2 separate regions of the Homo sapiens genome follow, and region 2 is linked to region 1. The links are contacts of gene promoters, found by promoter capture Hi-C in human tissues and cell types (Jung and others, 2019). All regions are on one chromosome and are shown on one strand. The core of a region is centred on a gene start or on the middle of the fragment in contact, and the rest is flanking DNA. Distances in the headings are between cores, read along the strand shown.

Evidence for each region. Contacts are between HindIII fragments. The study calls those that stand out against the background at their distance.
Region 2: a fragment that was not itself captured here is called in contact with the fragment with the promoter of OR10D3 in region 1 in 3 of the 25 tissues and cell types used here (bladder, pancreas and psoas muscle).

The regions. Positions count from the first base shown.
Region 1 is chr11:124,181,574-124,184,894 of GRCh38, reverse strand. It overlaps OR10D3 (olfactory receptor family 10 subfamily D member 3), which reads right to left and starts at 1,550. Exons shown (of 2, transcript NM_001355213.3): 1 at 1,512-1,550. The HindIII fragment of the contact is 12,854 bases long and covers 1-3,321 here.
Region 2 is chr11:124,145,749-124,149,069 of GRCh38, reverse strand. It overlaps VWA5A (von Willebrand factor A domain containing 5A), which reads right to left. Exons shown (of 19, transcript NM_001130142.2): 19 at 1,349-3,204. The coding sequence ends at 3,125. Among named protein-coding and RNA genes, the nearest start is that of VWA5A, 32 kb to the right of the region's middle. The HindIII fragment of the contact is 3,586 bases long and covers 1-3,292 here.

The DNA.
Region 1 (3,321 bases), core at 301-2,800:
TTATATCACTGGAGATATGAACCACAATTCGGGAATCATCATATTTGTAAGCCATTATTAGCAACAACGTTAGATTTTATGTCTACGTTTTTTAAGGGAATCATAAAGGTTGATCCCTGCTTTGCAGTTCAAAACACTTATACAACATGATCTCCGTTCATCTAATCCTGGCAGTCACTTTTTGAGGAGGTCTACAGAAAAGATTACATTTGAGCAGTAGGAAGGCTAGGTGACTCTCCTAAATTAAGGCAGCTAGTTCTTGGTAGAACTAGGCATCTACATTCTTTTTTTTTCTTTTTAAACATCAGTCTTTCCCCCGGGTCTGGATGGATCCATCTGTGATAGATCACGGCATTACTGGCCTTGTCAAATCTTACCCCGGTATTAACCATGTTTTTCATTTGGACATCACCAGGCTCTTAAAATGTTGTTCCTCCTCCTCCTTAGTAAGCAATGGAAAATCAATATATATCCAGCTACCTCCCCACACACACACAAATATAACATCTAGGAGAGTAAATATTTTTTGTGTTTACGATTATACTCTCAGTGCAAAGAACAGTGCCTTTTTCAATAAACGTTTGATGAAGGAAATAAGATAACTCACTCAATGCCTGGCAAGAATTGGATATCATTCCTCTTGTGCAAGGATCTGTGTGGTACTATCAGATAGTAATTTCTCCTCACAGTCTTCTAAAGCAACTTGATCATCTACCTGTTTCTCTTTTGCCCATTTCCTGTATATTTGGAATTTCTCTGTTTACAATCATGTCACCTGCACTCCAGAAGAAGCTCTACACTACATTCCAAAAAGCAATCAGACCCAAGACAAGTGCTACATATAATCTATACTGCTTCCAAAAATGTCCTGGCTGTCATACATCAAAGAAAGAATCAAATGAAGATATCCACATATGGGCTCATTTAGAGTTTCTGTTACTTTAATAATATAAAATCAAGTCCAAATTCCTGATTGTAAAGTGAAATAACAAGAATGGGGTTTGTGAGCTGATGGGCCAGCACAATGGGCTCAAAGATAAACCAAGCAAATAAGATCTATTCTTCTGGCCAGTAGATCCATGCTCTCTGTTCATTCTGAATTCTGAGAATACTTTGTAAACTGAGGACTCCAAATTTTCCTCTCCATTGGATACACAAAGCATAAAAGAGGAGTGAAAAAAGAGGTGAGGGCCCCTATAATTTCAGCTACTCTGGAGACTAAGGCAGGAGAATTGCTTGAACCCGGGAGGTGGAGGTTGCAGTGAGCTGAGATCGTGCCACTGCACTTCAGCCTGGCCAACAGAGTGAGACTCAGGGAGGGAGGGAGGGAGGGAAGGAGGGAAGGAGGGAAGGAGGCAGGGAGGGAGGGAGGGAAGGAAGGAAGGGGAAAGAAAGAAAAAAAAAGAAAGAGAAAAAAAGAGAAAGAAAGAGAAAGAGAGAGAAAGAGAGAGAGAAAGAGAGAGAGAAAGAAAGAGAGAGAAAGAGGCAAAGATGGCACTTATGTAACTTACAAAGAGAAAGTATGATCATTTAATCATCTGTTTGTATAGGATTTTTAGTCCAAATTTTCCTTTGGCATATTAGAGGTTAGGGATCTCCACCCATGATCTGGAATGCTTTCTTCTTAGCCAAATAAACTCTGACTAAATGACATGCAGCAGCGTGCGTCTCTGTCTTCTGCACAGACATCTTCCAAGACACTGATATCTACATTGCTTTCTCCTACGTGGAAATTTAAATATCTTTGGAGCCTTTGGGACCCCATTCCTGAATGAGTCCTATTCAAGGAGGTTGTTGAGCAAAGGGAGTAATTAGAAGTGAGTAAACTGTCTAGTTGAAATAGAATATGGTGATGTTTCCCACTGTGACAGTGCTGGATAGGAACAAGGGGGAGCCAAATCTCTATTTTCTACCTCTAAGATTGACCCTGGGAAAGGAGAAAAAAGGTGAATGGTATAGCCCAATCCTAGGACATATGTAGAAACCAGTTACCCAGTTTCAGGATACATTATCGGAATGAGAAATAACCTAACAACCATATATCTCAGACTTTTAAAAATATCCAATTTTAAATATTTTAATCTCAGTTTCTTCATAGTTCTTGCCATGAACTGAATTGTGTTCCTTCAAAAATTCGTGTTGAAACTCTTAACACACCCAATCCACGTAACTGTATTGGAAGTAGGGTCTTTAAGAAGGTGAATAAAGTTAAATGAGACCATAAGGATGAAGCCCTGATGCAATAGAACTGGTATCTTTGTAAAAGGAGAGACATCAGATCTCTCTCTCTGTCTCTTTCTCTCTCTCTCTCTGCCTGTCTTTTTCTCTCCCTTTATCTCTCCATGTGAGAACACAGCAAGAAGACAGCCCCATCTCTAAGCCCCAGAAACCAAACCCTGCTGCAAAACCTGTGCAACCTTGATCTTGAATTTTACAATCTGCAGAACTGCGAGAAAAAAAATTCCTGTTGTTTGTGTCACCTAGTATATTCTGTTTTGTTATGGCAGCCCTAGTGAACTAACATAGTTCTTCTACTTTTCAGACTATGGTTTCTAATATTTTGATATAGAAATAGAATTTCTTTTCCTAGACTCCAACAAACATTTGTCAATTGGCACAGCTGAATTTCCTGAACCAGAAATAGTTCTCCTGATGATATTCCCAGAATTATATCAAAGTATTATTCAACAAACATTAATTAATAACCTATACAACCAAGAATAAGACAAATTTCCTTAATCTTGACCTTCTCTTCTGTGAAAGGAGTCAAGAACCTTGCCCTTTGAGATTCCAGACATTTGTAATCTGGAAATTATTCCTCTTTCATGTAACGTAACAGTTACAGAGTTGTCAAAGAACTGAAAAATATGTAAAAACCTGAAATAATAAAGTAGAGAAAACAAAAGAAAAGAGGTCAGCAATGCTAAATTTGGCTCTTTGAAAAGACTAAGAAAATAGAAGTACTTCTTTAAAAATGATTCTTGAAAAAAGTGAGAAGGCACATATAAACATGAGGAATGAAAGGATGACAGAAGCACATGGATTAAGCAGAATGAAAAGAGATATTACAACATTTGCCAAGATATTCAAATGATTTGTCAAAATAATTTATCAAATGCTTATTAATTTGTGAAAACTGACTAAAAATAGAAAATATGAAGAGTCGTATGTAAAAGTTTCTATTGCTTACTGCATAACCAATTACTCCAAACTTTTGTGGCTTAGAGGCATTTATTATCTCATGCTTTCTGTGACTCAGAAATCCAAGCACACCTTAACTCAATTCCTCTGGATCAGGGTCTCTCATGAAGTTACAGTCAA
Region 2 (3,321 bases), core at 250-2,749, 36 kb after region 1:
GAAATCACACAAAATGCCTGGTTAAAGTGAGAAAAGGCAAAAATGAAAAAATAAAAGAAAAAAATGCAATAAATAGTAAACAGTTGACAAACATGGTAGATATTAACCTAATTTTATCAATAATTACTCTAAATATAGATGATATGGGTCGATAATTTAAAAGTAGTGATTGCCAGAGTGGATTAAAAGCAAACAAAAACAAATAAATAAGACCCAACCACATGTTGTTTCCAAAAATCCACTTTAAATAAAAAGACTCATATAGGCTAAAAGTGAAGGGATGGAGAAAGATACACCCTGCCAAAACCAATCAGCAGAAAGCTGCAGTAGTTACGTAAATTTCAGACAAAGCCAACTTCAGAACAACAACAACAAAAATCAGGAATAAAGTTGAGCATTAAATAATGATAAAAGAGTCAATTTTCCAAGGATGTATGATAATTTTAAATGTATATGCACTTAGGAGAATATCAAAATATATGAGGTAAAAACTGATAAAATACACAGTTCACTGCATGGGTTTTTTTTTTTGGTTTTCTCCTGGTCAATCAGATACTCCAGAAAGCAGATGGACTGTTTTTAAGGAAGGAATTGCTGTGAGTTGGGAGAGGAAGAGCAGATGCTCAGTGACCCTGAGTGGGACTGTGTTAGAGTTGGGGAAGACGGAGGATGGATTTCATTAGTAAGTCTGTGTAGAACAGAGAACCCTCCAGGGGAGCTCCTGGCCTGTTTGAGTGGAAGAATCTTGAGGGAATGGTATCTGCCACTTTTCCTGTGGCCAAGTCTGCTGCTGTGGGGGAAACAAGCACTAGATAAAGGCAACTAATGGGAGATGAGAACAGCTTCTCTCCTGGGCTCCTTGCCTGGACCACCAGTTTCTGAAATTACAGATGGTTCTTTATACTTTCCCAAAACATAAAGCATCAGACTTGAAATGGGGTTTCAACAAATGTGCCAAAATGCCATTTGCTGATTATGAAGACTGACACTTGTTTAGATTCGAGGAATTTACAGTTGGCACAACATTTCACTGTGCAGGAGCCCAAATGGAAAAATAAAACCACGCCACTTTAAAACTGTAGTTGTCTTATTTTAAAGAGGTCAAAAGACAGGTTGATAATTTTTTTTTTGTTTCTTTTAGTTCGTTTAGTTTTTGTTTTAGAACGCCCCGCACTAAGTCCACAAGCCCCAGTCTGGAAGTTGAAGGGTGAGAAAAAAGGAGGTAAACGATAAGCGCTCCGCATAATAAATGTAAAGTCACAGCATTGTGTGCACAGAGGTTAACTATACAAGTTTCACGGTCCTTAAGAAACTATTTTCTGAAATTACATAGGTAGGGCCTATCTAGATGGCAGGCTTGGATATAAGCCTATTTCATGAAAATATTAAGCCTTTACTTTTCAAACTTCAATGTGCATGCATGATACCTGGGAGCCTTGTTAAATAAAGTAGTTCCTGGTATCGATTAAAATTCTGCATTTCTAAAAAGCTGCATTTCTAACAACCCTGTTCCGCAGATCACATTCAGCATAAACAAACTTGGAAGAAAGACTGAGAGATTAGAGTCCACTATGCAAGTCACACAAGTCTTCCTAATACCAGGTAACTCAACAACTTAAAGAAACTCAGGCCTAGTCCACCCACTTTCTGAGTGAAAAGTCACCGATGTTCCTCTAGGAATTCTGAGTGGAACTCGAAAGTGTTAATAAAGTTCTAGTTTAATCCCTTAGTTTTACAGATGAGGATATTAAGTGCCTGAGGGTGAAATCATTTGCCCATCATCACATAACTATTTAAGGGTATGGTCAGGATTCTACAGTGGTATTCTTATTAGTATCCTTTACTTGCTTCATATAAAAGAAGTCAGCCTACAACAGAAGATAGAGGGTCAGGATACCATGGGAACAGTGGAGGCATCAGAAAAGCTGGAACAGAAAACAAGGGACAATAAAACCAATGTAAGTTCAATAAATGAATCTATGGAGGAGTAGACCTCTTGCTAAGCTTTTTTTCCCTACTAAGTTTTATTTCACTAACTTCAGGTCAAATTTCCACAACTGTGTTCCGGTCAATTTACTATCCTAGTTTGGCTTCCCAAAGTGGCAGTACCAAAATATTGTGGGGTAGGGAGACGAGACCACTTTAAGAACCACTGCATTTACTCATCAAAGGGTAGAAATAGTCATTTTAATATTGATACAAGTTATTTTAAGGGACAGCATATCAAATAGGGTCATTTCCACCAGGATAGGGTATATGAGACACAAGGGTCAGGAACGATTACGGGGAGCTCCTTTCTTCCTAATGCGGTAAGTGCTCCAGGTTCAGGTCCCAGGCAAAGCTCCCATTAAGCCCACCCTTCCCTTTACTGCACTAGATCAGGGCCTGACTTAGAGGACACATAGGTTCAGGGTAGGACTAAGGATTGCATTATAGACTTCTTAAGGTGTTTCATGATTAAAGAGGAACATCTCTCTCCAACAGTTATAGTTCAACCCAAGTCTTTCAGGCAGTGGAAGAAAAGACATGTAGGTTGTACAGGCTAGCAAAGCCCAAGAAGAATGAATCAGGAAGGTCCCCAACAGTGTCACCTCTCACAGTGGACCCCTGCAGTCTCTGTCTTTGTGATCTTGACATTACATTGATCCAGATGTTGGCTTTCAACTTCCCTCTAACTCCTCCTACGCAAGCTTACCAGTATGGCCCTGATAAGTATATAAGATAGAAAGTGAACAGACAAAGATAATGCAGAAAATTCTCTAATTCAAGCATTCTCTAACATAAATGCTGCAATCTTTAGTCTGTAGTTCATGTCACCTGTTTTTCATGTTGTTTCCCTGGAAACCCTGGGAGGAACATTACTGCCTATGAATGTTTTGAACTCCCTCAAGAAAGGGAATAGGTTCTGGGACCACTGTCACTTTTCTGAGGGCATATGTTGGGAAAAGAAAGATCATATCCAAAGTGAACCTGGAGCAGAGAAGCGAAGTGGAGTAAGCATCCTTTACTTTTATGGCAAAAAATAAAGAGTTATAATACACAAGAACACATCATCACAGCAAAAGTGATACTAGAGGAAATGACAGTAGCAAATTAAAGGCACTTCTTTTTCTGGATGGTATCTTCAAAAGGCAAAGATAGCAGGATCCACAGATGACTTCAGGAAAGTAATAGCAGCTTTCACAACCGAAGGCATGGTGGAGCCTGTGGTGAGGAAAAACAAGAAGCAGGGATGAAGGATTGCAATTAGAGGCTCCTCCAAACCTCCCAGATCATCTACCCTGAGTTGTGCTTTTATCTGTCCTCAATATCCCTGCTTTT